Regions from separate parts of the Homo sapiens genome. Here regions 1, 2, 3, 4 and 5 are each linked to region 6. The links are contacts of gene promoters, found by promoter capture Hi-C in blood cells and fetal thymus (Javierre and others, 2016). All regions are on one chromosome and are shown on one strand. The core of a region is centred on a gene start or on the middle of the fragment in contact, and the rest is flanking DNA. Distances in the headings are between cores, read along the strand shown.

Region 1 (2,974 bases), core at 124-2,623, 360 kb after region 6:
CTCACTGGTTTCCTTTGGCTGACCCTTCCTGCTGCCTGCCCCTTACACTCCAAAGAACACAGTGCTATCTCTATATCTTCCGCACATGCACCCCTGAACTGCAACAGCTGCCTGGTATGTATCCTTTCTACATCCCCTACCTTGTCCACCCTGACTGACTGCTGCCTATTAACTTTCTGACAAATCTGAGCAAACACTCTTGAGTTAGATAAGTTGCCCCAGTTTCTAAAGATAAGCCCCAATTCTTTAGCATGAATCAGGGTCTTGGCAGGGCAGAGACATGCACAGTGTGGTCCCTGCCAGCCCCATCCCTGTTCACTCCCTTCCCCTAGGAACACAGGAATATCAGCATCCCTTTAATGGTATCATTTCTTTGCACAGGTTCCTCCCTCTGACCAGGTGCTTGCCCCTTCTCAACTGCTGACCTCCAATGTCATCTGCCTCACAAGGTCTCTGCAGGTTGCTCCACATCCGCAATGACTGTTTTTGGTCTTTTTCCTGTTTGTTTTGTTTTTGGAGGGGAGGAGGGGTGGGTTGTGTGTGTGCACACAGGTGTGCACAGTGGAAGGTGTATCTAGACAGAAATGAACACAACACAAACAGTCACACACACTGCATGGAAATCCGTTACGACAACTTTCAGCTGATGTAAAGCTCTATGAAGCAATGAGTTCTCTAATGAGAAAGTGAAAAACCAAGGCAAAGAGGTTTTACGTGTCTGATTTGATTAATGCAAGGTACATCTTTCAAGAATTCCAGATAAAGGAGAACCGAAACCAGTACTTAAGGACACAGACTCTGGAGTCAAAAATCCCTGCCCAGCCACTAGTTGGTGATACAACCTTGTGTCTCTAAGCCTCCGCTTTGCTCATCAGTAAAGTCAGGGAAACAACACTTCCATTGCAGAAGTAGTGCAGAGCTCAGGTAAGACAACCTATTAGCTGTAGCTGACATTACTGCACACTTACCTATGGGTCTATGCCAGTCCAAACATTATCCCCAATTGACACATGAGGCTGGACTATTCAAGTCCTATAGACATCCTTAGCCAAGCCTGTGACCTCTGGGTGTCACAGTTCTCAGCCAGAGAGCCTGTGTGTAGTCATACTCTCATGAGGACAAAATGGGCTTTCCTTGTGACCATCTTAGGGTCTTGGTCAAAGAGTTGCTGTTTTCATTACCTGAGACCCAGCTCAACTTGGAAGGGAATGGCCACCCCAGAGAGCAGTAAGTACAACAATCAGTGACAAAGCATCATGGGAGCATTCAAGTCAGCTAGCTGAAATCTCTGCAAACAGTACTTTTCCGTTCTCATTAGTTACAAGCTGCCAGGAAATTTTAGCTGTGAACAGAATGAAGACAGGCTGGAGAAACAGTCCTACTATTTATAAAGCCTTGGTGTTAGCCAATTTGATCCTCTTCTGCATATAAATGGGCCAAGATCCTCCAGGCACGCCTGCTCTGAGGGTGGCTGGATGGCTGGCAGGGATGCCCCAAAACCTAGGCCCCAGGCTGGCCAACCAGGTCCTTCCAATGCCCAGGGTGTGACCATGCTTTGTTAGTTTACATCTGACATTTGGGTAGGGGGCTGTCTGCGTATCTCACTTCAAGCCATAATAGTCACTTCTTATTGCCTCCCTTAAAAAGTGTTTCAAAGGAGTATTTTTGACTAATGTGTAAATTAGCAATCCCCATACTATTACCCTTTTAACTGGCAGAACTAGATACTCCATCAAACATGATTATATGATTTGACTGAAAATCCAAAAAATAAGTAAGTAAAACAATGCCTCAGAAATCCAGCCCAGTTTCTGGCAATGTTCATTACATTCATTTGAGAATTCTCTGTAGTGAATTATATAAAAGTTTTTTGGTAAGTACAGCCACAATGAAACAAATGTCAGAAAGTCATTTCTCACAGAGAACATTTACTTGGGCTGCCAAGGAAAAGCAATTAGTTCTTGCCTTAGAAGAGCCTTAACCAAGAGATGCTTCGCCATGAGGCCATTTCATTCCCTAGGGGCAGGCCTGGTAGGAGAAGAAGACCTGATACCTATCTGTTAACGCACTTATTGAAGTCCCATCTCAGCATGGGATGGTCCGTGCAAGTTTGACAGCCACAACGTTCACCTGACAAAACCAAAAGTCTCCAGAGGAAGACAATAAAAATAATTCTTTAAGTGACGAGCCTGAGTAGCCTGCCCCAGGCCAACAAACACTGTAACGAAGGTCTTCTGTAGAAAGTTTCCGTATGTTTCCCATCTACTATGGTTTGAATGTGTCTCCTCCAAAATTCAGGTGTGGAAACTTAATGGCCAATGTGACGGTATTAAGAAGTGATTAGGTTATGAGGGCTCCTCCCCTATGACTAGATTAAGGCATTTATTAAACAGGCTTCACGCAGCATCCAGCTCTCTTCCCCTTCTGTCCCTGTCACCACGTGAGGACACAGCATTCCACCCCTCCAAAGGACACAGCATCAGGCCCATCTTAGAAGCAGAGAGCCCTCACTTGACAACTGAACCTGCCAGAGCCTTGATCTTGGATTTTCCAGCCTCCAGAACTGTAGGAAAATAAAATTTTGTATAAACACCTGCTCTCAAGTATTCTGTTACAGCAGCCCAAATGAACTGAAACACCATCCTTGCATTAGCCTTCCTCAAAGCCATGGATCTTAGGTGATATCAAGTTCACATGAAGACAAGAGACATATGACATCAATTAGAAGGGAATAAGAAAAAGGGACAGGCCATCAGCAAGGGGCACCTCTGTCTGGCCACACAGGATTGCACACAGAATTGACCACACCCTTGGAAATTGTCATCTCTGGGAAATGGAGGCTCCCAGAGGCTAAAGGAATGGTCTATAGTCACATACCCTAAGTGGCTGAGCCAAATTCTGGCCTCACCCCAGTTCTTCAGGCTGTAATGCACCTGTCAGGCCGCCGCCTGCACCCACCACACTTGGTAGCTGA
Region 2 (3,175 bases), core at 82-2,581, 480 kb after region 6:
TGAAGCACTGCATGCAGCCACAGAGCCAGGCACAGCTGTCTTCCGAAGTTTCCCGACTCCTGATGTTTTGGGGATTCAAATAGTCCTTTTCATATGCTGGAGGCACAAACTGGGGCAGCTAAAATTTTTATTCTGTTGTCAAGGGGCAAGATGCCAGCTTGGAAGTGCCAAGGAGCTAAAGGGCCCAGCACTGCCGGCCCCAGAACTGTCTGTTCAGGCTGTGCAGTAAGCACCAGAGCCTCGCCTGTCCACGAAGGGTGTAAGCCTGTGCTCCACAATGTGCTCAGCTCCAGAGAGGCCCAACAACCTCAGGAGGGCTTGGCTGTGGGTCTGAATTTCTTTCCTTTGTGCTTGAAGCTGCGCAGTGGGTTCTGGGACTTTGCTCTCTAAGGAGGCAAAGTCACAGGTTAGTTGGGGGAATCAGGCCGACAGACAATCCACCCACCCACCCACCCAACTGAGAAAGACACAAAGGGAGCCGTGCCGGCAACTGGCCAACACGACCAGAAGGTGCTGCAGATAAGGAAATGGGGAAAGGCAGCTGGGGAAAGAAAAGCAGGGCCTGCAGGCGGCTGCAAAAGTACCCCTATCCCACACCAGATTTTTGGGGCCCGGTTCTAGGGTGCCCCCTCTTCCCCTCCCTAGGGCACCCTCTCTTCCCCTCCCTAGGGCAAGGCGCCTCCACATTCTGGTGATGACAAAAGAGCAGGTTGGGAGGAGTCCTGGGGCTGTCCGCAGTCCCCAGGAGCCGTACCTTGGCCTTCCTACAAGAGGAAGACAGCTTCTTCCGCTTCTTGTGAGGGCGCACCAGGCCACGGAGAGCAGGAGGAACTGGAAGAGATGCTTGCCTGAGCAGTGGGCTCACCGCTACTGCTCCCATCCCTGCCCTCCCGCTGATTCTGCAGCAAATTCTCCAATTCTGACCCAACTGGCAGCCTATGACATACATCTATTCACTACCACATCTGCACAGGGCCAGGAGAATGTGAGCACCTTAGACTTCCACTATTTAAATCACTCTCCTATATTGTTTAGATTTGTTACAACAAACATGTAACAAGAAAGAAAAAGACAGACATCCTTAAAGAAAGAAAATGCAGCTGAAATAAAAGTCAACAGGTAGTTTCTTCACCTGTGGCCCATTACTACCGATACAGGGGGCCCCGCATCCCAGCTGCACCTGATCTTGGCTCTATCTTCACCTCGCCCACCCCATGGACTCCCCCAGGCCAACCACACCTGGGCCCTCCCCTTCAAATGTCAAACATCCCACATCCTGACACCTTTCCACCTTCTCCTGGCCCTTCTAAACCTCCTGGCCACACCTTGGCAAATGACTCCGCTATACGAGCAGACTGGGTTCCTGAGGCCAAAGTTCTAGCCTTACCTTCTCCCTCCCTACCCACCCTCCCAACTCCCCTCCTCACATCTCAGGCCAGGACCTGGACTGGGGTCTCCTCCAGCTCACTGTCCCATGGGAACCCGGCCCCCACCGCTCTCTCTGGCATTTTCATGTTCCCATCTCTTCTGGATCCTTCCTTTCCCAGTGCCCAGGCTTTTCCTGCCCTGGAACATTCCATCTCCACCCTTTGTCACCTCCATAGCAGCAACACCACACCCGCTGGGTGGCTGCAGGTCCAGGCTGAGCAGACCCTGTGGCATTGGGAAGGGTCCTGCACTTGCTGCCCACAGCCTCCTCTCCACCACTCTCCTCCTTCAATCCATTTTAGGCATAAAAGTCACACATACTCATTACCAAAAACACCTCCTATGAGACACTGAAAGAAGTCATTACCCAGAGCCTGCCAAAGATGAGGAGAGGTGCCCAGTATTAATGGCCACATAAAGCTCTAGCCTGGGCTGCACTACAGAAACCAATCCCAGGGTCCTGACCTCATGCCTGCCAACCCCTGCATCCCTCGCACCACCACTGGCTCTTCTCTTGCTACCTTGTCGGTTTAGGCCTTACAGAGTCTGTCTCCCTGCTGACTGTTCTTACCCAGAGACTCCACAGATGCCTCTTCAGCAGCTGCTAATCTTGAGTCTTTTGCAGCACAGGTGGCTCTCTCTGCCTCCTGCCCGTGACTCTCTCCCAAACCTGTTCACTCCCTTCGACCCATGGATGGCCATTTGGCCCAGCTCTGGAGACGACCTGGCCTGAAATGCTGGGTCTGCCACCCACCCTGCACTACCTCAATTTCCTCATCTCTAAAATGGAGACAGCAACAGCTAACCCGTGGGACCAAGCAAACAAGTTTAGAAACACAGGGGTGTGCCTGTTTACATGCCCGCGTGCTGCCAGGGTCTCCAGGTTCTATTCTGCCTGAGCATCCCCAGCACCAAGCACAGGGGCTGACCCAGCAGTGGAGAAATTAATGCCACTTCCCCAGCCTGCTGCCTCCTGCCCTGTCAGGCCACACTCACCCAGGTAGTCAGGAACATGGCCCAGGTGGGGCTTCACCACTGCGGGGTGCAAAGGTAGGTCATGCCGCAGCAGCTGGAGGTCCCTAGGGTTGTCTTCAAAGTATGTCTGCCGGGGGAAGAGGGAGAGCCACAGAGTGAGCATCTTTCTTCTGTGACTTCACAGACCTAGCTTTTCAAAGGATAACACACTCATGTGTTTCAAAAGGCATGAGGCAGCTGCTTCTGTGCATTTCTCAGAACCTCCCGGGAGTGGATGTTTCCATTTTCCCTTCTCCATGACACACATGGCAGTACCCTGTACCCCTTTTTGCTGGGCATCATCTTACAGACTGTTCCATATGGACACGCAACCAACCTCATTCCTTCCCATGTAACCTTCGGCTCTGAATGCACCTGAGTTTACCTAGCAAGCCCCCTATGGTGGCCCCAGGCTGTTTCCATCTTTTGGTTCCATGATAATGCCATGGATGGATGAATGCAGGCACATGCTTGACTGTGCACATTCACAAGCGTGACCAGGATTAAGTTCCAGAAGTGGAATTTCGGATGAAAGGACACATGAGCTCGTAATTCTGCTGGACAGTGTCCACCATAAGGTTGTGCCAATTTACCACCAAGCAGAACAGACTGGCTTCCTTCCATGATTCTGGGTCCATTTCCTCCCCTTCCGTGCCAAAGGCCAGAAAACTGCCCAGTTCTCTGCTTCTCACCACTCGGAGCTCAGCCAGTCTCCAAAAAGGGCAGCCGTCTA
Region 3 (3,075 bases), core at 271-2,770, 430 kb after region 6:
GCTGAGGATGACGGGCAGGAAGACCAAGCCATGCAGCAGGCCCAGCAGAGTGATCAGGAGGTTGAGGCGGAAGAAGAAGATCTGAATGAGCTGGGCCTTGGCGAGGCCCAGGACAAGGATGCCAGGCAGGTTGGTCATGGCCACACCTGCAAACACCTGGGGGGTTCAGAGCCAGGTGTCAGGCAGGGCACAGGGCATCAGGCAGGGCACAGGGCATCAGGCAGGGCACAGGGTGTCGAGTGGGGCACAGGGTGGCCCACTCCTCTCCACTCACCGCACTTCCCATAGAGATGGTGGCCTCTTTGGCCCTCTCCAGCCAGGTGGGCTTGGTGCTGATGGCAAAGGAGCGGGTAATGTGGGACACAAACTCCACAGACATGCCCACCGCCTATGGGCAGAGAGGGGGCATAAGCCAAGAAAGGCAGAGGTGGGGAAGGAACTAGGGAGATGAGGCCTCCACCAGGACCAGCGTGGGGCAGGCATCTAGATTCTAGACAGAACTGGGAGTATTTGGCCGGGTGCAGTGGCTCATGCCTATAATCCCAACACTTTGGGAGGCCGAGGTGAGAGGATCACTTGAGCCCAGGAGTTTGAGACCAGCCTGGGCAACAAAGTGAGACCCTGTCTCTACAACAAAAATTAAAATATTAGCTGGACGCAGTGGCACGTGCCTGTAGTCCTGGCTACTTTGGAGGCTGAGGTAGGAGGATCGCTTGAGCCCAAGGGTTCGAGGCTACAGTGAGCTGTGATCATGTCACTGCCCTCAAGCCTGAGCAACAGAGCAAGACCCTGCCTCTAAAAAAAGAAACAAAAAAGAACTAGGAGTATTCTATGAGGCTGGATCCCCAACCACCCCTCCAGAGGCCCCCTGGTGCCTGTGTCTGCTGGGTTACCGAGACCAGGTTGATGAGGGACACAGCATTGTAACTGATGCCCCACAGGGCCATGAAGCCGACAGTGTCCACGAGGATCATGACAATGGAGAGCAGGTTGAGGAGGCCGGAGCGCAGGTCCAGGCCCAGCAGGAGGCAGGAGACAGCGAAGGTGGGCACAAGGCAGAGGCTGAGCATGAAGAGCCCCTCAGGGAGGATGGTCAGGTACTGCTCATAAAACACATTGGTGATCCTGCCAGAGCACAGAGCATGGTCACAGGCTCAGGCCTCTGGGGCCCTCATGGTGGGTGGGACACCCCACTTCAGAAGGAGAATGCTGAGGGTCAGGCAGGCTTATATTGGGGTACAAACCAGCCTAAGAAATAGGCCCAAGGCTGCAGCCAGAGCCTCCTGACCTAAAACTGGTCCTCATCTCATGCAACTCCTTGCAAGCCCTCCACCCTAACCTCCAGTCTCCAGCAACCATACCCCACCTCCCTCCAGCCCAGCCACTCAGGTCCTCACGTGTAGGGGAAGACCTCAAAAGCCGGGTCTGTTCCAGGCACTTTCCGCAGGTCAGCAGTGATGTTGGCTGCCAGCTCTCGAGCTGCCCGCAGAGCTTCTGTGTAATCCTGTGAGTTTTTCAGGGGCTTGTGATAGGCCATGAACCTGGAGGCTGGACAGCCATGGCACACAGAAGATGGAAGGGCAAAGGTCAGAGCCCTTTCCAGGACAACTTCAGAACACCGCAGACGCAGTGGCACAGGCATGTGATCAAGCGGGGTTCAGGGCTCTGCCACCACCATTTGAAATTCTTAGTAAATTTTGTGCAAGAGGCCCATATTTTTGTTTTGCACCAGCCCTGCAAACTCCATAGCTGGCCCCACTGCTGTGGGAGACCCAGGCCTGACCTTTGATGAGTGAAGCCTACAGAGATCTCCCTAGTGAACCGAGATTCTTCTCTGTATGGTTTCAAGATATGCATTGGATTTTTAAAATTAACTTAATTGGTTTTTAATTTGCATATTCCTATAGGAAAGGACTAGAAAGGAAGACAGAAAAATGAGAACGGTTGGATTATTAGAGCTGTGGCTTAGGGCTCCTGCCAGATAAAGGTTATTTCTTAATGACTTTTAAGAAATTAAGGTTATTGGCCGGGTGTGGTGGCTCATGCCTGTAATCCCAGCACTTTGGAAGGCTAAGGCAGGTCGATCACCTGAGGTCAGGAGTTCAAGACCAGCCTGCCCAACATGGTGAAACCCTGTCTCTACTAAAAATGCAAAAATTAGCCAGGCGTGGTGGCACACCCCTGTAATCCCAGCTACTTGGGGGGCTGAGGCAGGAGAATTCTTGAACTCAGGAGGCAGAGGCTGCAGTGAGCTGAGATCATGCTACTGCACTCCAGCTGGGCAACAGAGCAAGATCCCATCTCAAAAAAAAAAAAGAAGAAATTAAGGTTATTAAGACCTTTATACAATAAAGGGTTTTTTGTTCTTGTTTTTGTTTTCGAGACAGAGTCTCACTGTCACCGCAGCTGGAGTGCAGTGGTGCGATCTTGGCTCACTGCAACTTCTGCTTCCCGGGTTCAAGTGATTGTCCTGCCTCAGCCTCCCAAGTAGCTGGGATTACAGGTGCATGCCACCATGCCTGGCTAATTTTTGTATTTTTAGTAGAGACAGGGTTTCACCATGTTGGCCAGGCTGGTCTCAAACTCCTGACCTCAAGTGATTCGCCGGCCTCGGTCTCCCAAACTGCTGGGATTACAGGTGTGAGCCACCGCACCTGGCCCAAAAAGGTTGTTTCTTGGCGACACTCTGCCTCTATTAATAATACAAAAATTAGCTGAGCATAGTGGCATGTGCCTGTAATCCCAGCTACTAGGGAGGCTGAGGCAGGAGAATTACTTGAATCCAGGAGGTAGAGGTTGCAGTGAGCCGAGATTGTGCCACTGTACTCCAGCCTGGGTGACAGAATGGCAACTGTGTCTCAAAAAAAAAAAAAAAGTTATTTCTTTATTGTGTACAGTGAGCATGTGTATCTGAAAAAGAAACAATAGTGCTACATAGGTGTGGAGAAAAAAGAAGAGAAATGTTCTTGGATACATACAATCTCAGAGCAGGGGAGGTGCCTGGAGAACTTCCCACCAGGCCTCTGACCACCTGGAGGGTAGTTCACACACAAATGCCCAGCCCAGCCCAGCAAT
Region 4 (2,921 bases), core at 387-2,886, 330 kb after region 6:
AGTTTTCTTCTAAAGAACATAAAGCATTATGCATACACTCTTATTTGTCTCCTACTACCCTTGAGAGAGCAAGTGTGAACTCATCATACCCATTCTACAGAAAAGGGATCAATGAGAAACTCCAGGAGAGGCAAAGCTCTGATAATGCCTGCATCAAGCTACAGCTGGAGAGTAGAGGATCTGGCTCTCCTGTGAAGCTCTATCCACAGCCCCAACACAAACACTGGGCTGCCTAAGCAAAGCCCCTGAATCACCAACCCAGAACAGATTCTGATTTTATCAGTTGAGTTGTTGCAGCCGGGGTTACCATCGTGACAATGTCCCATAGGTGCCACAGACAAAAAACAAAAATAAACACTGCTGACAGGCAACCGTGACAGGTAGACTTAGGGAATAACTGGCCAGGCCAGAAAGAAAGTACAGCTCTGAAGAAAAACACTTAGACAAGCAAAATCCAAGAGATACAAAATAAACTTTTTCCAAAGTTTTAAGTGAGGTACGACTAAAAAAAAAATCATTCAGCAATTAAGAGACCAAGAATTTTTATTTTTACTTTATTTTATTTATTTTTTGAGATAGGGTCTTACTCTGTTGCCCAAGGTGGAGTGCAGTGGCACAATCACAGTTCGCAGAAGCCTTGACCTCCTGGGCTCAGGTAATCCTCCCACCTCTGCCTCCCAAGTAGCTAGGACTACAGCAGCGTGCCACCATCCCCAGCTAAATTTTTTTTGTGCTGTTTTGTAGAGATGGGCTTTCACCATGATGCCCAGGCTGGTCTCAAATTCCTGGGCTCAAGCAATCTGCCCACCTCAGCCTCCCAAAGTGCTGGGATTACAGGCTTGAGCCACCATGCCAAGCCAAGAATTTTTAAAAGAGGTCTGCAGTTAGGAAGTCGGAGGTTGCAGTGAGCCAAGATGGCGCCACCGCACTCTAGCCTGGGTGACACAGCGAGACTCCAAATCAAAAAAAAATAAAAAATAAAAAAAATAAGAGGTCTGCAGTGTTGTAAGAATGACATGGGGAAAAAAAATACTATTGAAGGAGAAAAAAGTTTTTCCAACCCCATAGGAGATGAAGCATGCCACCAAGGCAGGTCACCAGTACAAATTAGGTCAGCGAGCATCACAAAAGGCCTATTGTCACATAGATATACCGTGTTAATAAATAAATAAGGCAAGCCACTATTAAATAAGCCACTGAAAAAAGAAGTCCCTTCCTTCCATCCTTCTATCCTGATACTTATAACCAAACTTCACCTTCGACCCTTCTCTGAGGTGAGAGAGAGCACTAGCTCCAGAGCAAGCCTTGATTGTGACCTGGCTCTTATTGGCTGAGACCATGCACACACAGCTCTCAGTAGCCCTCATGGGTGCACAGCGACTGCCTGCATGATAGGAGGACTGGGGGGGACAACTCACTATTTCAAGACACAGAGAGGGCACCACACGAGTGCTGGTTAAATACACAAACCACCCACTTTTAGGTTCTATACGGCACCTGCCTCCATCTTGCTCATTTATTTACTGACTTTTACTGCTGTACCCCACTGGGATATAAGCTCCAAACCAGCAATCTTGTCTGTCTTGGTGACTCCCACATGCCCAGTTCCTGGGACAAAGCACAGCCCACACGTTTAGAAAACGTCTAATGTAGAATGAGCCAAATCCAGGGTTATCCTTGGTGATAGTAGAGCCACATCATCTTAGAGGTCATGATAAGTGCATTTGAGAGAGGTGTAAATCTGAACTTCAGACAAGACATCAGGGCAGGACCCTCATAACACGGTGCCGACCACAGGGAAGAATCATGGCATCAACATCCCAGATAGTCAACAAGCATATCTGAGACACCATTTCCAGTGGGGAGTTGTCCCAGGTAGCTGTGCAAAGTATGGTGAAAGCTGTTAGCTAACCTGGGTCTCTTGAGTCAAAAAAAGAGAAAATAACCAGTTTTAGCTTGGGCCTAATACAAACCCTTTCAGAGAAAGCCCCAGGGGTTCATAGAGCAGTTCAGAAGACAGATAAAGGACCAGGAAACTGTAAATTTTTTTTAGCCAAGTGAATGAAGCATGGCAATCGATGCTTTTCCTAATTTATTCAACTACATACACGGCAATACTAACAAAAAATGAAATGGAAATCAACACCTAACCCACTAAAACCCCAAAATTCTGGATAAACTACTTGGGAAGAGCTATTAGCTCCTGCTCCTGGCCTATTAAAAACAGACAGGAAGTAGTCATTTGAAAATAGAATTCCGTGTGGATGATCCCTAGTGATCTGGTCTGACTTTGATCTTAAAATTATACTGAAGTCTATGATTCTAGAGGTCACCAGTTGCTGGTAAGAGATATACTGGGGATGTGGGGTGGGAAGAAGGGAAAATTGAGCACACAGCTACTTGCTGCCGAAGCCAGGCCACCAGCAACTCACTGATCTGTGCCTGTGGTACCTTAAAGGCACAGGGCACTTGCAAAAGTCTCAGTCTTCTTAGGGATGCCATGGACCCCACCCAAACTCCTACACACAGGGCAGGTTTAGGACATGTCTACCTATTTCAAGTGGCCCCTGGAGAATGAAGGAGAGACTGCAGAGGGAGTGGTCATGGAGTCGGAAGGCACAGGACAGGAGGGCCAGAGGGACTCAGCTCCAGGCCAGCCTGGACTTCACACCTACCCAGCCGAGGCAGGAATGGGACTAAGCCTAGTCACCTTACTGTCACCATGTGGGATGCAAGGTGCAAGCCAAGTTGCCCCCACCATACAGAGAGGTTCATTTCCTATAAATGCACATGAGACGTGTTCCAGGACAGTCTCTCCTTCTAAGAAGCCAGCACCACTTGTATGTATAGAGTAAGGAGGGTGGCACAGAGGGAAAAGCATAAGGTTTAGAAGCAGACACACCTGACTCAAACCACAGCTT
Region 5 (2,964 bases), core at 136-2,635, 400 kb after region 6:
TCGCCCAGGCTGGAGTGCAGTGGCACAATCTCAACTCACTGCAACCTCCACCTCCCGGGTTCATGCAATTCTGCTGCCTCAGCCTCCTGTGTAGCTGAGATTACAGGCACGCACCACCACACCTGGTTAATTTTTTGTATTTTTATAGAGACAGAGTTTCACCATGTTGGTGAGGCTTGTCTCAAACTCCTGACTTCAAATGATCAGCCGGCCTCGGCCTCTAACAGTGCTGAGATTACAGGCATGAGCCACCACACCCAGCCTGAACAACTATTAAAATTGTAAAGCATCCTTACAGAATATAAGCACATTCTCTGATGCTATCTTGTGCAAATAGGGAAATATCTGTGTGCAAATTCTCTCTCTTCTCTGAGGAATAAGATGGGTTATTTACTTTGGGCCGGGCGCGGTGGCTCACGCCTGTAATTCCAGCACTTTGGGAGACCGAGATGGGTGGATCACCCAAGGTCAGGAGTTTCAGACCAGTATGGCCAACATGGTGAAACCCTGTCTCTACTAAAAAAATACAAAAATTAGCCAGGCATGGTGGCAGGCACCTGCACTCCCAGCTACTTGCAAGGCTAAGGCAGGAGAATCGCTTGAACCTGGGAGGTGGAAGTTGCAGTAAGCCGAGATCATGCCATTGCACTCCAGCCTGGGCAACAAGAGCAAAACTCCGTCTAAAAAAAGAAAAAGATAGGTTCCTTTAAGCCCTGGGGTGGGGGCATTTCTGATCTTCATTTGACATGCCCTGGCAGCAACAGTAGGGCAGAAACAAGAATGAAATTCAGACCAATTGTAGGTTATTAGTCAGGGAGATGCTAAAATCAGAGTGATGGTAAAATTAGGTCAAAATAAAATTTCCCCCAAATCACCCCAAAAATACTATAAATGAAACCTGTACATTATTATGTATAAATAACAATGTATGCTGCAACAGCTTTAGGGCAGAACACAGGCACAAGGTTGCCAGGATCTGGGAGTCTGGCACCAATGGAAATGTCATTGTATTAGTCCATTCTCATGCTGCTATAAGGACATACCCAAGATGGGGTAATTTATAAAGAAAAGAGGTTTAATTGACTCGCAGTTCAGCATGGCTGGGGAGGCCTCAGAAAACTTACAATCATGACAGAAGGGGAAGTAAACACATCCTTCTTCACATACCAGCAGGAAGACGTGCCAAGCAAAGCGGGAAAAGTCCCTTATAAAACCGTCTATGAGAACTCACTATCACGAGAACCACATGGATATAACTGCCCCCATGATTCACTGCCTCCCACCGGGTCCCTCCCATGACATGTGAGGATTATGGGAACTGCAATTCAAGATGAGATTTGGGTGGGGACACAGCCAAACCATACTGGTCATCTATCTTGACTGTGGTGGTTACAAGACTACATTTGTCCAAAGTCATAAACTGTATTCTAAAAGGAATGAATTGTATTGTTACATAAATTATACTTTACTAAAACACAAAACAATTGTCTGTATACAGTAATGAACACCTTACAACAAAAATGCATATATAGAGGCAGGAGGAGTACTTGAGCCCAGAAGTTCGAGTTCAGCCTGAAAAACACAGCAAGATCCTGTCTCTAAAAAAATAAAATTCAAAATACATATATACAAAATATAAATACATTATTTTTAATCTTGTTTCTTTCTTTCCCAGCACTTACACTGAATTTATTTAAATTAAATAAGCATGTGATGTGACTTTACTGTAGTATACAAAAAGGGAGTTTTTGCCTAATACTGGTTAGAACCGAAAAACATGTCAAGTAAGAGTCATCAGATATCAGCAATCTAAGACTTAGATTCTCAGATTTTAGACAGAGTGCTCACAAAAGATGGTGCTTCTGTGTGGTCTTCTACAGAATAACTACCTTAAATTACTCAATTAAAAGAACTGCAGATCTATAATTTATAGGATAAACCATCCTGAACACTGGTGGGAGGACTTGGGGTGCAGCTAAAGGTAGAACAAGGAAAAGGATGGTCTTTCACATTCTATTTTCAAATCTGCTAAAACACTACATTTCAGGTATAACTAGAGATCGGTGCCACAACTTCCTGTTTTGTTCAAGGAAAACAAGTAACTGAAGCTGAGAATGTTCCAGTCCTTGGAAAGGTTTGATTAGGATTCTTGCGGTACCAGTCTATTCTGAACAAAGAGCTACCAAGTAGAAAGGTTAGCTTTCCTGAAACATATCCAAGTCTTCACTCTATACTTATTTTTAAGGTAGAACTCACAAAACTAACTCTAATTCTAACCCAGAACAAAATTCACTGGTTCAAGAATTTTAAAATAGGGTCTCTACAAAACAACAAAGTAGCTATTCTAGTCTATTACTCAGAAATCAAAACCAATACCCTCCTTTCATTTTTTAGAGATCATAAAAGGAATACAAAAAAATTAATAAAACAAAATAAATGGTCATTACAGAAAAATTAGAAAATATAGTAAGGGACAAAGATAAAAATGAAGAACACTCACAATTCCACCACTCTGTGATTACTACTACTATTTTCTTCCAGCTTTTTTTCTACATACATAATTTTTAAAGTTTTCAAATTTGATATTAGACTATATAGTTTGAATTCTCCCCTTCTCACTTAACATTATATCATGAAAATATCTGTATAAGTCAAGGTTCCACCAAAGAAACAGAAGCAGCAGATATAGTCAGCCCTCGCTATCCATGGGTTCCATAGCCCAAATCAAAATATTCCCAAAAAATATTTACCAAAATATTTGCTGAGGATCAAAAATATTCCCAAAAAATGGCCAGGCATGGTGCCTCACACCTATAATCCCAGCACTTTACGAGGCTGAGGCGAGTGGATCACTTGAGCTCACCAGTTCGACACCAGCCTGGGCAACATGGTAAGACCCTATCTCTACAAAAAATACAAAAATCAGCTGGGCAAGGTGGTGCACGCCTGTAGTCCCAGCTACTT
Region 6 (3,218 bases), core at 1-2,500:
CTGCCTGCCACATACTTGTTTGGCTCTTGGGCAAGCCACGTGTCTATACTTTGATTTCCTCTTCTGTAAAGCAGAGATAACATATCCACCCTGTGGGGTTGTTGTACAAAGATAGTGCCTTGTACACTCTAAGCTGCTATCATCCTCTCCTGAGTGGGTCTGGCGCACTACTGATCCCTGGTAATGTTAAAAAATCAAACACAACTGTGGGGGAATACTAGCCCCAGGTTCGTTTGCTCTCTCAACCTCCAAACTAGGGGGCACCCCCAGCTCCCTTACTCTGGGTGTTGTCTCTGTAGCCGCCATTTTTTCTTCTCTTGGTTCCCTTCCTACAAGAGCTTCTCAGTCGTGTTATTTACTCAGGCCTGAGGACAGAGGAGCCTGCGGGCTCCGGGCCTCTTGAGAAGTCAGTCTCGCTCACAGGTGGGACATAGCCCAGGCAGAAGGGCTGTTAGCAAATACGACTTTTTTTTTTTTTTTTTTTGAGACAGAGTCTCACTCTGTCGCCCAGGCTGGAGTGCAGTGGCGCGATCTCGGCTCACTGCAAGCTCCGCCTCCCAGGTTCATGCCATTCTCCTGCCTCAGCCTCCCGAGTAGCTGGGACTACAGGTGCCCGCCACCACCTCCGGTTAATTTTTTGTATTTTTAGTAGAGACGGGGTTTCACCGTGTTAGCCAGGATGGTCTCGATCTCCTGACCTCGTGATCTGCCCGCCTCGGCCTCCCAAAGTGCTGGGATTACAGGCGTGAGCCACCGCGCCCGGCCTACTGCTTATTAATTACCCCTGACCTCTGGTTTTGATTCTCGCAGTGATCCTTTAAAACACGCCTCGCCCTAATTAATAGCACCCTTTACAGAAGAGGAGATGGAGGCTCAGGGAAAGGTCACAAGACCACGAAGTGCCACTGCAAACTTAGAATCCAAAACCAGAAGTGCCATGGAAGCCCTCGCCGCGCCGCGCCGCCCCGCACCTGCAGGCGTCAAGGACGCGGAAGCCTTTGGAGCGCGCCAGGCCTGTGAGGAAGGCCCGGCGGCTGCGACCCATGCGAGGCTCGACCAGGTAGATGGCGACTCCCGGGAAGCGCGTCGAGGGCGGCGTGGAGGAAGCGGCATCGCCGCTAGGGGACCCGACCCGCGCTCGCCGCCGTTTGGGGAGCATTGGGACGACAGCCTCCAGCAGCGCGGAGCGAACGCAGAGGGAAACTCCGAGCGAGACGGAAGGAAGCCCCAGTGAGGCTGACGGAAGCGGGTGGGCGGGCGGGCGGCCGCCGGCTGGAAGAGGACGTGGCCCCGCCCTATGCAAATGAGGCCTCTCCGTGGGGCTCGCTACTTGGGCCAGTCGGAGCGCTGGGGAGGGTCCGGGCTCCTACAGGATTGGGTGTCCCGGCCGCTCCGGAAGACCCGCCTCCATGCAAATAACGGCAGAGGACCCGCCTTTTATTTAAATTAATGTCTCGGAAAGCGCTGTTCGGCCCCATTGGCCTCCGGGAGGAGAGGCTGGGCTGGAGCGGGGCGGGGAGGGTGTTGGAGGGGGTGGAGGAGGCGGGGTCAAGGGGGCGTCCCCGGCTAGGGAGGGTGAACTGGGACCTAGGCCCGGGCGGAGCGGGGTGGGCTGTGTCCTTGGCGCCGGGGCTGGGTCTAGGGTTGAGCCGGCGGCTCGGGGCGGACGCGTGCGGGCTGTGCCCGATCCCTCTGCGCTCGGGACTGTCACACGGAAGCCGGCGGGCGCAGGACCGACACGCGGGTTTCCAATGCGCTGGTGGGGCGGTCGCTTCAAACACGCGGGAAGATTTTTCAGTCGAATGGCATTAGGACAACTGGCAGGCCATTTGGAAAAATAGAAGTTGGTGCCCTTCCTCATTCCTTAACACCAAAATAAATTCCAGATGGGTCAAACATTTCCATCTAAAAAGGAAACCAACAACGTACTGGAAAAAAGTCGGTGAATGTTTTTATGATCTAAATATCACAATAAACTTGGAAACACTAAAGGAAAAGAATGATAAACTGGACTACAGACAAATTTTAAATCTGATTAAAAATTAGAGTCAGAAGATAAACTGGGATAAAGTGTGAGATATTTTGGAATTAAGATTATCTCATGATAATCTTATCAAATTGTCCATAGATAAAAAGACAATAATTTAATAGAAAAATTAGCAAAAAAACTCACGTAGATGATTCTTAGAAGAAATCCTGGTCAATAAATTTATGACCAGAGTGCCCAACCTGTCCAGTCGTTACAGAATACCTAAATGAGAATATCTTCAGTTGTGGGTTTATCAAACATTCAAAAAAATTGACCACACATGTTGAAGGTGCGAGGTAATTGGCAATCCATAGGAAGGACTGTGGAAGCCAATGTGGCAACCACATCCAACAAAATGAAAACAAAATAATACACATTGATCCAGCAATTCCTTTCCCAAGATTGGGATTGCATTGAATCTATAGATCAAGCTGGGGAAATCTGATGTCTTGATAATATCAAGTCTTCTGTCTATCTTATTTAGATATACTCCATTTGTAACCTCTGTTACGGTAGTGTGGCACTGCTCAGCCTAACTGATGGGACACCAGATCAGATGCAACCCCCTTCCACATGCCTCTCCTCATCACTGCCCCATCGTCCTCAGTCTTGAGCCCCAGACTCCTTGAGCACCTATCCTTTTTCTTTGGCTCCTCTCTGACATCTTTAGTGGGCTGGCTCTTCCCCATCTCTGCACTCAGAGCACAGGGCTGAGGGGAGTGGGGGAGATGGCTCAGCCCAGGCATCCTCTTGACCTCCTACACCATCTCCCAGCCTCCTAATTCATCTACCTCTTCAGGGCTGTAGAGCTTCCTGGGCCTCAGGACCCACATACAGAAGCCAGGAGGCCTGCGTATGGTCCCTCTCTCCCCATCCTCCCCTTGTGCCAGCAGGGATGGGCAGGCTCTAAGGGTCTTCGTCTGTGGATCTGGCTCCTACCCTTCTCAAGGAGGAGGCTCTGCCCAAATATCCCCTGAGCAGATCCCTCTAGCTGTCTAAAACCATTTCTGTTCCTTTTAATGTCCTCTGTCTGGCCAGAGCACCTGGGCTCCCCTTGGAGCCCTTGTTCTCTCCTGGGAAGGCAGAGGCAGTTTTTAAGACTATGAGACCTGAATACTTAAAACACTGGGCAACTGTGCAAAAATGTTTGTGCAAGGAATCTCATCCAAATGACAGTGGAAGAAACTGC

The links. The method cuts DNA at HindIII sites, captures the fragments that hold promoters and counts their contacts. A CHiCAGO score of 5 or more calls a contact.
Region 1: a fragment that was not itself captured here is called in contact with the fragment with the promoter of POLM in region 6 in 1 of 17 cell types (M0 macrophages); the score reaches 5.1 in M0 macrophages.
Region 2: a contact is called between a fragment that was not itself captured here and the fragment with the promoter of POLM in region 6, in 16 of 17 cell types (M1 macrophages, M0 macrophages, naive CD4 T cells and 13 more). The highest score is 13.3, in M1 macrophages.
Region 3: a fragment that was not itself captured here is called in contact with the fragment with the promoter of POLM in region 6 in 2 of 17 cell types (M2 macrophages and M0 macrophages); the score reaches 5.5 in M2 macrophages.
Region 4: a contact is called between a fragment that was not itself captured here and the fragment with the promoter of POLM in region 6, in 1 of 17 cell types (M1 macrophages). The highest score is 5.8, in M1 macrophages.
Region 5: a fragment that was not itself captured here is called in contact with the fragment with the promoter of POLM in region 6 in 15 of 17 cell types (total B cells, neutrophils, M1 macrophages and 12 more); the score reaches 12.9 in total B cells.

What each region holds. Positions count from the first base shown.
Region 1 is chr7:44,445,097-44,448,070 of GRCh38, forward strand. The region is part of intron 2 of NUDCD3 (NudC domain containing 3); the gene reads right to left. Among named protein-coding and RNA genes, the nearest start is that of NUDCD3, 44 kb to the right of the region's middle. The HindIII fragment of the contact is 4,100 bases long and covers 1-2,974 here.
Region 2 is chr7:44,565,694-44,568,868 of GRCh38, forward strand. It overlaps DDX56 (DEAD-box helicase 56), which reads right to left. Exons shown (of 14, transcript NM_019082.4): 12 at 2,425-2,530; 13 at 755-831; 14 at 111-386. The coding sequence ends at 309. Among named protein-coding and RNA genes, the nearest start is that of DDX56, 6.6 kb to the right of the region's middle. RefSeq lists a silencer at 1-117 and an enhancer at 1-470. The HindIII fragment of the contact is 3,764 bases long and covers 1-3,175 here.
Region 3 is chr7:44,515,810-44,518,884 of GRCh38, forward strand. It overlaps NPC1L1 (NPC1 like intracellular cholesterol transporter 1), which reads right to left. Exons shown (of 19, transcript NM_001101648.2): 15 at 1,398-1,548; 16 at 894-1,125; 17 at 275-388; 18 at 1-156. Among named protein-coding and RNA genes, the nearest start is that of NPC1L1, 24 kb to the right of the region's middle. The HindIII fragment of the contact is 7,058 bases long and covers 1-3,075 here.
Region 4 is chr7:44,415,530-44,418,450 of GRCh38, forward strand. All of the region lies in intron 3 of NUDCD3 (NudC domain containing 3), which reads right to left. Among named protein-coding and RNA genes, the nearest start is that of NUDCD3, 74 kb to the right of the region's middle. The HindIII fragment of the contact is 3,443 bases long and covers 1-2,921 here.
Region 5 is chr7:44,477,871-44,480,834 of GRCh38, forward strand. The region is part of intron 2 of NUDCD3 (NudC domain containing 3); the gene reads right to left. Among named protein-coding and RNA genes, the nearest start is that of NUDCD3, 11 kb to the right of the region's middle. The HindIII fragment of the contact is 6,664 bases long and covers 1-2,964 here.
Region 6 is chr7:44,081,280-44,084,497 of GRCh38, forward strand. POLM (DNA polymerase mu) reads right to left here and starts at 1,251. Exons shown (of 11, transcript NM_013284.4): 1 at 972-1,251. The coding sequence starts at 1,159. RefSeq lists an enhancer at 1,025-1,525 and a silencer at 1,237-1,816. The HindIII fragment of the contact is 8,170 bases long and covers 1-3,218 here.